Regions from separate parts of the Homo sapiens genome. Here all the other regions are linked to region 1. The links are contacts of gene promoters, found by promoter capture Hi-C in blood cells and fetal thymus (Javierre and others, 2016). All regions are on one chromosome and are shown on one strand. Each heading gives the region's core, a stretch centred on a gene start or on the middle of the fragment in contact. The rest is flanking DNA. Distances are from core to core; before and after follow the strand shown. Region 1 holds the start of CACNG3 (calcium voltage-gated channel auxiliary subunit gamma 3). Region 2 has its middle 15 kb from the start of CHP2. Region 3 has its middle 40 kb from the start of CHP2.

The links. The method cuts DNA at HindIII sites, captures the fragments that hold promoters and counts their contacts. A CHiCAGO score of 5 or more calls a contact.
Region 2: a contact is called between a fragment that was not itself captured here and the fragment with the promoter of CACNG3 in region 1, in 4 of 17 cell types (total CD8 T cells, naive CD8 T cells, naive B cells and 1 more). The highest score is 7.6, in total CD8 T cells.
Region 3: a fragment that was not itself captured here is called in contact with the fragment with the promoter of CACNG3 in region 1 in 7 of 17 cell types (naive CD8 T cells, total CD8 T cells, total CD4 T cells and 4 more); the score reaches 7.7 in naive CD8 T cells.

What each region holds. Positions count from the first base shown.
Region 1 is chr16:24,254,567-24,258,520 of GRCh38, forward strand. CACNG3 (calcium voltage-gated channel auxiliary subunit gamma 3) reads left to right here and starts at 1,769. Exons shown (of 4, transcript NM_006539.4): 1 at 1,769-2,399. The coding sequence starts at 2,189. RefSeq lists an enhancer at 1,517-2,244. The HindIII fragment of the contact is 7,529 bases long and covers 1-2,602 here.
Region 2 is chr16:23,768,242-23,772,195 of GRCh38, forward strand. No RefSeq gene overlaps it. Among named protein-coding and RNA genes, the nearest start is that of CHP2, 15 kb to the left of the region's middle. The HindIII fragment of the contact is 4,988 bases long and covers 1-3,954 here.
Region 3 is chr16:23,793,038-23,796,991 of GRCh38, forward strand. No RefSeq gene overlaps it. Among named protein-coding and RNA genes, the nearest start is that of CHP2, 40 kb to the left of the region's middle. The HindIII fragment of the contact is 8,748 bases long and covers 1-3,954 here.

The sequences.
Region 1 (3,954 bases), core at 519-3,018:
AGCACAGGTGAGCATTCAAACACAATCACTCCACAGCTATATATTCAAACTTCCTCCTGCACATGAGTATTTATCTAACACCAAGAATAAAGTCTTCAGTCTTAACACCAAAATGAAAGTAGCAAAGTCACCAAGAAGTTGTGAGCTGCATTTGCGAACCCTTCAATATATTCCTGCTACCCAGTCACCTGAATAGAAGTTCCCAGGCAGCCAGAGATGGCACCAGGGGAGTATGTTTGTCTGCGATTACCTCCCGTTATATTTCTGTCCAGCTAAATAACATTCAAACATGACAGTTGGTTGCGGACACATCTCAGGAACTGTGGAAACAACCCAAGCAACCTCATTTCCAACTATCTGACCTCTGGATATCAGTCCCAGGATGCCATAAGAAAAAAAATAATAAGGGCATTTCTGTGGGCTGTTTCTAGTCAACTCGGTGTGTGCCCATGCATATGCCGGAATACATAGTAATAAAAAGCTGGTTAAATGCTGGTCCTTTGCAATACTGGCTATTTCCAAGGAAGAGAGCTTTCAGGTGTGCAATGCCATTTGCCCTTTGGACTAACAAGCAAAGCAGACCTAACTTCACCTGCTTCATGGTCTCACTTAGATAACAATGTTAACAAATGATATCTCAGAGACCTTTGAACAAAATCTGACATTTTCAGTGACTCTCCCACCATGAATCCATCACCCCCTTCGATGTAGATATGTTAAAATGTATAAAAGGCATATTCAAAGGCCAAAATCTTATAGTCTTTTGCCCAAGGTCCCTAATATGTGTATGACAGAGTCTATGTATATTTAGCTTCTTCCATCTTTTAGGAATACATGATCATGTATATATGAACAGTTCCGGGTCTGATCTGAGCGGGTTGTCTTCGGTGTAAACCAGAGCTCCAGAGAAAGGAGGGTAGACATATTGGTTTGTTTGCTGGGGAACCAAATTGAGACAGACTCTACACAGATGTGATTGTGACAACACTTTTTGCCCGCCTAAGCGAGCCATAGAGCCGTCTCCAGAGCTGCCGGTGCCTTTAAGAAGACTCGGTCTTTCGGGTCTTCTTTTTCCCCAATGGGCTCCAGTGGTGCCCGCAGCAAAAGGCAAACTTGCCTGGCTCATGGGGTGAAAGGGAGGATTGAAGAATGCCGCGTTGGGTGGGTGCTGAGGGAGCGCCAGAGTGCGCTACGGGCTTCGCTCCCCTTCCCCTTTCCTTAACCCTTCCTAGAGCGGAGGAACCGGGTCGTGCTGCAGCGCCCAGGAGCCAGGGCGCTGACTGTCCTCGGCTCCAGAAACTTTGCGCGGAGAGTGGGCTTGACTGGGCAGAGCCGAGCCGGCTGGCTGACCCGGGAAGGAACGGGGGAAGGGCGGGGTGAGGGAAGAAAGACCCTTTAGCACCCCGGGTTTCTAGCCCGGGCGGCGGTGTGCAGCTGCATGAGGGAGCTGTCCCTTCGGCACCACGGACCTTAAAGCCTAGGCGTTAAGACGACGGAGGCGGGGCAACAGGCGGGGAGCTGTCCCTTCAGCACCACGGACCTTGGCGCCCCCAGGGAAACCAGCCGGCCCCCGCCCCAGGACTCTGTCTTTTCTCCAGTTTGAGCGGGGGTGTCGGGAGCAGGCGGAGAGCTTTCCTGCGAGGCTGTGGAAGCAGTGAACACTCTTCTCAGCGGCTCGCCTCCCAGCAGTGCTATTTTTTGCCATCCGCCCTCACCCCCAGCACACGCGCTCGCACACACACGCACGCACGCACACACACACACACACACACTCACACAGAGACCTCTCTGGGTTTCTTTGCCTTGAGTCTCCCGGGGCTGTGAGAAGCCAGGCGCATCTCAAACCGAGCTGGCAGCTCCAGGCTCCGGAGCCATGCCCTGCACGGACCCTCGTCTTTACCACGCTCCTGAGGAATGAAAGGAACCCAGGGACCCTCAGAAGGCAGCAGTGATGCGGACCAACCCCCCGGAGCCTGCACCCTTCCGAGGGCCATAGGCGACCCAGGGAACTGGAGAGAGCTCCAGAAAGGAAATCCCAGCTTTCCCAAAGTCCCTGTGGATGCTGACAAAAGGAGACCTGAATTTTTGGAAGAGCCTGTACTAGGTTACCCGGCTGCAGAGTGATTTTCCCCTCCGGCACTGACTCTCCCCCTCCAACCCCCAGCCGTCCAGAGTACCATGAAGAATTATGAGGATGTGTGACAGAGGTATCCAGATGTTGATCACCACTGTAGGAGCCTTTGCCGCTTTTAGTTTAATGACCATTGCAGTGGGCACGGACTACTGGTTATATTCCAGAGGTGTGTGCAGGACTAAATCTACAAGTGATAATGAAACCAGCAGGAAGAATGAAGAAGTAATGACCCATTCGGGGCTGTGGAGGACCTGCTGCCTAGAAGGTATTTACAATTTCCTCTCAATAGCTCTGAATAATCCAGTTCTGATATTCTGGTGGGTGTTTGGAGGAGATGGAAATGGTGATAAGGAAAGAAGAGAAGTTCAAATTATTGCTGAGAATGTGCAGGTGCCCAGACTCTGTTAACAGCAAGACTGACGCCATGTGGGTTAAAGGGGTTGGGTCTTGTTGATTGTTTTTAGTATAAGCTTCATGAGATGAGATTTTTGTCACACTCTAGGCAGCTTCTGCAGTTTAGAAAAGTCTTCAAATCCAAAATCCCTAGGCATATTGTCAACTGCTTGGATCTCTGGCTTGAGATGGGGTCTTTAACCCTGCTTAAATTGGATTTCGAAGGGAGGGGGAGGGAAGGGAGGAGAAGGGACAAGAGGAAAGAAGTGAGGGGGGAGAGAGAGAGAGAGAGAGAGAGAGAGAGAGAGAGAGAGAGAGAGAGAGAGAGAGAGAGATCCTGACCCGGTCTGGCACATTCTGAGCTATTTCATTATTTCTCAACATAGACTTATCAGTTTCTCCTGAGTTTGCTCTAACTAGATATTGTCATGAACTTCCACTGCCAATCAGTAACAGGGTAACATATGTAAACCCCTACTCCCACCCACACCCTATGCACACATTTTAAGAAAAAATCCTTATTGATACATGTTTTATTAGTTTGGATCACAACAAAACTGAAGTCTTGGTATTTTGTATCCACCTGTCTTCATTCCTAAATCATTCCCAAACCCCTAAAAAGGTATTTCCATGACATTTACAAAAGACTGATTCTCCAAGAATTGCAGTTCGTCATTTCTAGTTCTAAAAATTAGGGAGTAGTTATAACTTATAATGAAGAAGAAAGAGCAATTTAAAAATATAAAGCCCTTTTGTAGCCTATCACACTATTAAACTTGCTTTCACCACACCAGAAGTCACTCTCAGCACCAGTAGGCAATGCTTGGATATCACTGGGAGTAAATAGAAAGATAAGGAAGAAAATCAAAGCTCTTTGGAGCCTATGTGCCTGAGGGAAGTCACTGGATTAGAGGGGCAGTAGGGGTTTTCTTAGGCTTCCGAGAAATCTGTGAAGCTTGTCACAGTGGTGGGCAAGGAAATCTGCGTTTCCTGTGTGGTCCCCTCCCCTGCTTGCCATTGGTTCTTCACACTGCATTTTCACTGGCTGGCATTTGTCAGGGCTTCTTGAGAACTTGCATTTATGTAAATCGCTTGGGAAATCATGCTATGACATCACTTGCCAGTGTAATATTGCATCATTCTCTGGCCTTTTTCCCATGTCCTGACACTTTGAACAACTGCTCTCCTGACCGTAGCGCTACTACAATTGATTCTGTTTCTAACACAAATTTGCAACTGGTGGGAAGCCCAGGTAGGAAAGGGCTACCTTTAATGCAGCAAGGATCATGTGAAGTCAGAAGACCTGGGTAATGCTGCAAAGTATCGCTGTGGCCTTGGTTAAGACATTTACCCTCTCCAACTCTCAGTTTATTCATCTGGGAAATGATACGTTTGGATTAGGTGGTCTTGAATTAACATTATCTAAA
Region 2 (3,954 bases), core at 951-3,450, 490 kb before region 1:
TGGATCACCTGAGGTCAGGAGTTCAAGACCAGCCTGGCCAACATGGAAAAACCCTGTCTCTACTGAAAAATACAAAAATTAGCTGGGCATGGTGATGGGCACCTGTAATCCCAGCTACTTGGGAAGCTGAGGCAGGAGAATTGCTTGAACCCAGGAGACAGAGGTTGCAGTGAGCCGAGATCGTGCCACTGCACTCCAGCCTGGACAACAGAGCGAGACTCTATGTCAAAAAAAAAAAAAAAGAAAGAAAGAAATATAAATGTCTAAATGCATATGAAAACATTCAACCTCAATGTTGATTAAAATTTGATTAAAATCACAACTCTTCTGAGGCCCAGTCTAGTTTTATATATCAAAAGCCCTAAAAATGGGGAGATTATTTGTCCCAGATCCTCATTTCTAGGCATGTATCCTAAGCAAATAATTAAGGATGTGCAAAAAGATATGACCTACCAGATTGTTCACTTAGGTCTTGTTTATAACAAACAAAGTGGATCATCAGAGTCATCCAACTGTGCGCCAATATGGGTGGGGCAGCTCTAGGGTGTGCTGTTCTGGTCTCCCTTCAAGAAGGAACTTGCCCTTCGGCTGTGAGGAATGCTGGGAGCTGACAGATTCCAGCTATTTTTATTTTTCTATTTTTGAGGCATGGGCCTTGCTCTGTCACCCAGGCTCAATGCAGCTTTGACCTTCTGGGCTCAAGTGATCCTCCCACCTCAGCCTCCTGAGTAGCTGGGACTACAGGTGTGCACCACTACACTCAGATAATTTACTTTTTTATTTTTAGTAGAGATGACGTCTCACTATGTTGCCCTGGCTGGTGTTGAACTCCTGGGCTCAAGTGACCTTCCCACCTCGGACTCCCAAAGTGCTGGGATTGCAGGTGTGAGCCACTGAACCTGGCCTCTGCCTCACCTGTTAAGCTGAGGTTGTGCTGTTCTCAGGCAGCCCCAGCGAAGGACTGAGCAAGGTACTGGGACTAGTGATTATAGCTCACTGTGGGATTCCTTTGGTGGGAAATCTTTGCTCCAGAACTCCCCACTGGGTTGGATGAACATTTTCCAGATCTGCATCTCGATCTGATATTCTCCCTGGCCAATCCTCCTTCTTCACCATTTTATCTTTCATGGATGTTACTCCCAAATAAACCTGATACTACCGCAGAGAACCCAACTAACACATTGCATTAGCATTCAATTGGAGTTTGATCAGAGGAGCAGAACCACCATGGCTGACATGCAATGAGAGACTTATTACATGTGGGGATTAGTCCTCATGCAACTGTGGGGGCAAGTTATCAGTCAATGTGGGCGGTGGCTCTTCTGAATCTGATGTTGCATCTGAAGTCATCAGGGCCAGCAGCTGGACAGGAAAAAATGTACATGAAGTAGGGGATGCAAAGACCAACAGGAACCTACAAGGACAACGTGGAACCTGAGTCTGTTGCCACCTCCAATCTTGATGATGTGAGTGACTGGCAGGAGGAGCCAGTGCCCATGACAGGCACCTGGTGTAGGGTTTGGAGAAGCTGAAGGAGACCTGGAGGAGCTGGAGGTACCACAGGCCTGGCTGATGCCTCACACCCACAGGTGAAGCATCAGGCTAGCTGCAAATTGTGTAAGTGGCAAGAATGCCATGCACCTGTGCTCAGAGCATAGCAATTGCTGCACCTTCAGTCCTGTCTGCCAAATCTTTTTTTTTTTTTAAGCGACAGAATCTCACTCTGTCACTCAGGCTGGAGTTAAGTGGTGTAATCATAGCTCACAGCAGCCTCAAACCTCTAGACTCAGGTTATCCTCCTGCCTCAGCCTCCCGAGTAACAGGGACCACAGGCCCATGTCACCATGCCTGGCTTATTTATTTATTTATATTTATTTTCTTATTTTTTTTGTAGAGATGGGGGATCTCGTTATGTTGCCCAGGCTGGTCTCGAACTCCTGGGCTCAAGCGATTCTCCAGCCTCAGCCTTCCAAAGTGTTGGGATTACAGGCGTGAGCCACTGCATCCGGCCAGTCTGTCAAATCTTGCATATGTTTTTCTCATGGCCAACAATAACATAGACCATAGAGAAGGGATTTCTTGGAAATATAGTTCCAGTTTTGCTAAGTTAAATAAAATTAAATAAACCTACCACAATAGGATTGGTTAAAATAAAATGATATATTCATAAAATGAAATGGTATTCAGCCATTTAAAACGATGTCATAGATGAATATTATCATTAAGAAAACAATATAAATAGCATAAACTAATTTGCAAACATGCATATAAACATATAAAGAAAAGTATTTTGAGGGGTTATGTTCTAAGATGTTACATTTTTAAGTCAAAACAAGTCAGTCTGGGTCACTTCTCTTCTTTAAACTCTTTTTTTTAGAGACAGGGTCTTACTTTGCTGCCAGGCTGGAGTGCAGTGGCACAATACAGCTCACTGCAGCCTCAACCTCCTGGGCTCAAATAATCTTCCCACCTCAGCCTCCTGAGTATCTGGGACTACAGGTGTGTGTCATCATACTGGGGTTAAGTTTTCTTTTTTTTTTTTTTTTTAGAGATAGGGTCTTGTTGTGTTGCTCGGGTTGGTCTCGACTCCCTGGTCTCAAGTAATCCTCCTGCCTCAACCTTCCTAATCTCCTTTAAATTCTTAAATAGTACTTTGGGAGGCCAAGGTGTGTGGATCACCTGAGGTCAGGAATTTGAGACCAGCCTGACCAACATAGTGAAACTCCGTCTCTACTAAAAATACAAAAATTATCTGGGCGTGGCGGCGGGTGCCTGTAATCCTATTTACTCGGGAGGCCGAGGCAGGAGAATCGCTTGAACCCGGGAGGTGGAGGTTGCAGTGAGCTGAGATCACACCATTGTACTCCATCTCAAAAAAAATTCTTAAACAGTTTTGCACAATTGATCAAATCTAAGTATTTTTATAGCTTCCAGGTCCTCTGCAATGCAGATGACGTATGCGGTCTTTCCAGTTTCATCTCTGACTCCCACGTGCGTGTCATTTCATGTTCTAGGAATGCCAGCTGTTTGAGGTTCTTCCTTTCTATGCTCTGCTGTTTCTCACTGACTTTGGCTTTTCTCTTTGGTTGGACTATCTTTCACCCCAACCTTTGCCTGATTAGTTCCTGCTTATTATTCAATAATAATTTTCTGGTAGTGCTTTATTGAGCCATTTGCAGCTCAATAGTTCCCCAAAGTAATTATTTTGAACATCAAAATAAATTACCTGGGAAACTTACAAAAATACTGATACTTGGGCGTCACTATAGATCTTCTACATTATAATTTCCAGAGACAGGACCTGCAAGTCTGCATATGATTTTGAATATAGACTTGTCTGCATGTGATAGAGATCCAATGGTTGTGTGGTGAATTTCCATAGTTTTATGTTGCCTTGGTACCCATTTTGAATATAAGTTAGACTTTCTCATATCAGACGCAGGGCCCAGTCAACCTTGACACAGTTCTTCACCTCTTCCCAGTTCCTCAATGTGGCTGATCCAGACACCTGCCTTATATCTCCTCCTGGTGTAGATACAACCTACTTGTCTCACCCCACCTAATTGACTCACCCCTCTGGCCCCTACACCTTGCATAGGTTGCACAGATATGCTACAGTGACCACCTCTTAGTCACAGTGTGGCTTTGCAGAGCTCCTGCCTGCTTAGTCTAAACCCACCAATTAGAACTTCTCTTGGGAAATCTGCTGGGGTAATACCCAAGACGTATTTTTTTTTTTTGAGATAGAGTTTCACTCTTTTGCCCAGGCTGGAGTGCAATGGCATGATCTAAGCTCACCACAACCTCTGCCTTCTGGTTTTAAGCAATTCTCCTGCCTCAGCCTCCCGAGTAGCTGGGATTACAGGCACCCGCCACCATGCCCAGCTAATTTTTGTATTTTTAGCAGAGACGGGGTTTCCCCATGTTGGCCAGGCTGGTCTCAAACTCCTGACC
Region 3 (3,954 bases), core at 733-3,232, 460 kb before region 1:
AAAGTCTATCTGAGGGGAAAAGAGGCTCTCTGCGTGTATTTCTTCCTCGCATTCCCCAGGTAGAATGATCCGCTAAACCATTTCCATTTCATCATGGATCTCTGCTGCACAGTGTCACACTCATTACAGTGTTTCTCTGATGTCACTCCAGTCATCGAGGGTGTTTTCCACCTTCCTGGGATGAATCCTTTGACTTTCTTGTCTGCATTTCCCCATTCTCTTATTAATTAATCTGATTTTTGTTATTGTTGTTGTTGAGACTGAGTCTCTCTCTGTCACCCAGCCTGGAGTGCAGTGTGATCTCAGCTGACTGCAACCTCTGCCTCCCAGGTTCAAGCGATTTTCCTGCATCAGCCTCCTGAGTAGTGGGACTACAGGCATGTGCCACCAAGCCCTGCTAAGTTTTCTTTGTATTTTTAGTAGAGACGGGGTTTCACCATGTTGGCCAGGCTGGTCTTGAACTCCTGACCTCAAATGATTTGCCCACCTAGGCCTCCCAAAGTGCTGGGATTACAGGCATAAGCCACCGTGACTGGCCCAGAAAACATGATAAGGCTTCTTGAACTACCTTTTGATTTTGCAGCAGCAAGGTTATACGGGGCATCCACATTACAGGGGTGCCCTTAACCACAGCATTTACTATGACCTTGGCAATGAGCACATTCAGCTGGTGAATATCGCGATTCTCATAAAGCCAGGCCCACATGACTTGCATATGAAACACATCAGCTGCTTCTTCCGAGATGCACTACTGGATATTTATAGGAGGAGACAGAGTCCCCCTTCTCAGGGAGAACAGATCTTACAGTGGCTTTTTTTTTTCTTTTTGAGATAGGGTCTCACTCTGTCACCAAAGCTGGTTGCAGTGGCGTGATCTTGGCATACTGTAACCTCCGCCTCCTAGGCTCAAGTGATCCTTGCACTTCAGCCTCCCAAATAGCTTGGACTTCAGGTGCACACTACCATGCCTGGTTAATTTTCTTTTTCTTTTGGAAGGGATGGAGTCTGGCCACGTTGCCCAGGCTGGTCTCAAACTCCTGATCTCAAGCAATCCACCCACCTCTGCCTCCCGAAGTGCTGGGAGTACAGGCATGAGGCACAATATCCAGCCTATAGTGGCTTTTATCCAGTCCACCAGGCTGGCTGTTCTCTTGGGAATAACCACCTGTGTGTCTGCCTCCCATATAACCATTTGTGATTATTTTGTAGTGAGCTGTGGGTCAACCCAAACGTGCTCTTTCACTGTAGTATTTAAAACTAAAGACATAGGCCGGGTGCGGTGGCTCATGTCTGTAATCCCAGCACTTTGGGATGGTGAGGTGGGTGGATCACTTGAGGCCAGGACCAGCCTGGCCAACATGGCAAAACCCTGTCTCTACTAAAAATGCAAAAATTACCCGGGCGTGGTGGTGGGCGCCTGTAAACTCAGCTACTTGGAAGGCTGAGGCACGGGAATCGTTTGATCCAGGAGGTAGAGGTGGCAGTGAGCTGAGATCGTGCCACTGTACTCTAAGTATTCTAAGGATTTTAAGAGTTGTATGCCAGGAAATGAGGTCCAAAACCAAATATAATTTTACAATATCACAAGTTGTTTCCAATGGTTGCTTATTAAGAGTAGAGCTGTGATAAACATTCATGTAGAGGTTTTTGTATGAATATAAATTTTTATTTCTCTGGGATGAATATTCAAGAGTGCAATTGCTAGGTTATATAGTAGTTGCATGTTCAGTTTGCATAGATTATGACAATGAGACAGCGAGAGAAGTCTAATGTGGCTGACTCCATCCTCACAGCCTGGATGTCTTTGCCCATTCCTGGGCATAGGCCAAGCTAACCATGGGAGGAGTTTAATTTACAGTTTAACCTTGAAGCAAGGATGGGAATAGTCTTACCTTGAAATGGATCCTTTCCTTGTGCAGGGGCTGAAACTGTCTTTGTAAGATTAATAAAAGACCACAAGATTAGGATTATGGAAGGGGCATAAATTTTAAAATGTAGATATAGTTTTTATAATCCTTTTACTGCTCTGGTATCATGTAACCAGAGGTCACGAGATTTGAGACTTTGCTAATTGCTCCTGTAGATGACAACACTATTTGTAGAATCAATCTAAGGTTGATCTTTTTTTTTTTCTTTTGGGACAGAGTCTCACTGCGTCACCCAGGCTGGAGTGCAGTGGTGCAATCTTGGCTCACTGCAACCTCTGCCTCCCAAGCTCAAGCAATTCTCATGCTTCAGCCTCCCAAGTAGCTGGGACAATAGGCATGTGCCACTGCACCCAGCTATTTTTTGTTTTTGTTTTTGTTTTTAGTAGAGATGGGGTTTCACCATGTTGGTCAGGAAGGTCTTGAACTCCCAGCCTCAAGTGATCAGCCTGCCTCAGCCTTCCAAAATGCTGGAATTACAGGCATGAGCCACTGCATCTGGCCAAGATTGATCTTTTGAGATGTTTTTCAGGCTTTTACATTCTGAGTAAAGAATGGATTGACTCCCACTGAACCCATGACTCATGATTCAATCAGTCCCGTGACCTCCACCCAGAGGCAGACTCAGTGCACGAGGGCCATTTTCCGCACACCTGTGATTGCATTTCCAATCCATCAACAGGACCCATTCCCTAATCCCCCACCCACCAATCTATCCTTGAAAAACCCTAACCTCCGAGCCTTTGGAGAGAATGATTTGAGTGATAACTCCAGTTCTCCCACGTGGCCGGCCTCACATTAATTAAACCCTTTCTTTACTGCAATTTCTTTACTGCAATATCACAGTCTCAGTGAACTGGTTTTGTTTGTGTAGTGCACAGGAAGAACCCAACAGATAATTATGCATGGATACCAAAATTGGGGGATCTCCATTACTTCTGGGCGAGAGGGGGATTTCTTGCTCCCCACTAGGCCTCCATGGATACCTTCCTAGAAAGGGCAGGAATGGCTCCATACTGCTTCCCACATGGCTTTTACTGACATCATGGACCAGGGGTGGGGTGGGGAGATAGGAGAATAGAGGGTTGGGGGGATAGGAAGTTGGGGGATGGGGGGGTTTCTTCTCATGACTGCTGGGAGGCCATAAAAATCCTAACTTTCCACTAGACCTACTATGACCCCACCCAGCAGAGAGGGAGACCTTGCTACTGACTTGTGGAGATAAAAGGCCCAGTTCCCTACCTGCCCTTCTCTGACACCACTTCTAGACATCTCATTACAGCCTAGGGAGTGTGGAATTCTAGACTATTCACTCAGCTTTGCTGCATGGCTGTGGGTGCATTCAGTTTTTTTTTTTTTTTCCTCCCCTGTGGCATTTCCTGGAGAAGAGTTATTATCATTTAAAAGTTTTCTGTCTTGCTAGGCTGCCTCTGCCTGCTCCCTTAGCTACAGAGAACACTTTTGGAAGAGCATATTTATCTGCACCTCTTGGCATTTCTGGGTTGCTGGCTTCTCCAGCTCCAAGTCTAGGCTATATCAGGCAAAAAGAAAACCCAGAGAACTCAACAATATGTCATTCCTTGAGTCCCGAGGTTCTTAACTGGCCTCTCTTCTCTCTGCCTCTCAGAGCCTTTTTTTTTTTTTTGAGCGAGGGTCTCACTCTTGTTACCCAGATTGTAGTGCAGTGGCATGATCACAGCTCACTGCAGCCTCCTCCTCCTGGGCTCAGGTAATCCTCCCACCTCAGCCTCCAGAGTAGCTGGGACTACAGGCGAGTGCCATCACTCCTGACTAATTTTTGTATTTTTTTCTCTGTAGAGACAGGGTCTCATTATATTGCCCAGGCTGGTCTCAAACTCCTGAGCTCAAATGATCCTCCCCCCTTGGCTTCCCTAAGTGCTGGGATTACAGGCATGAGCCACCATGCCTGGCTGACTTTTTTCTTCGGGAATTGTAATGTGCCCAGCTGTCAAGAATGGATCATGACTTGTGTAGGCCAACCATTGCTATCCTATTCCCCTTTGCCAGA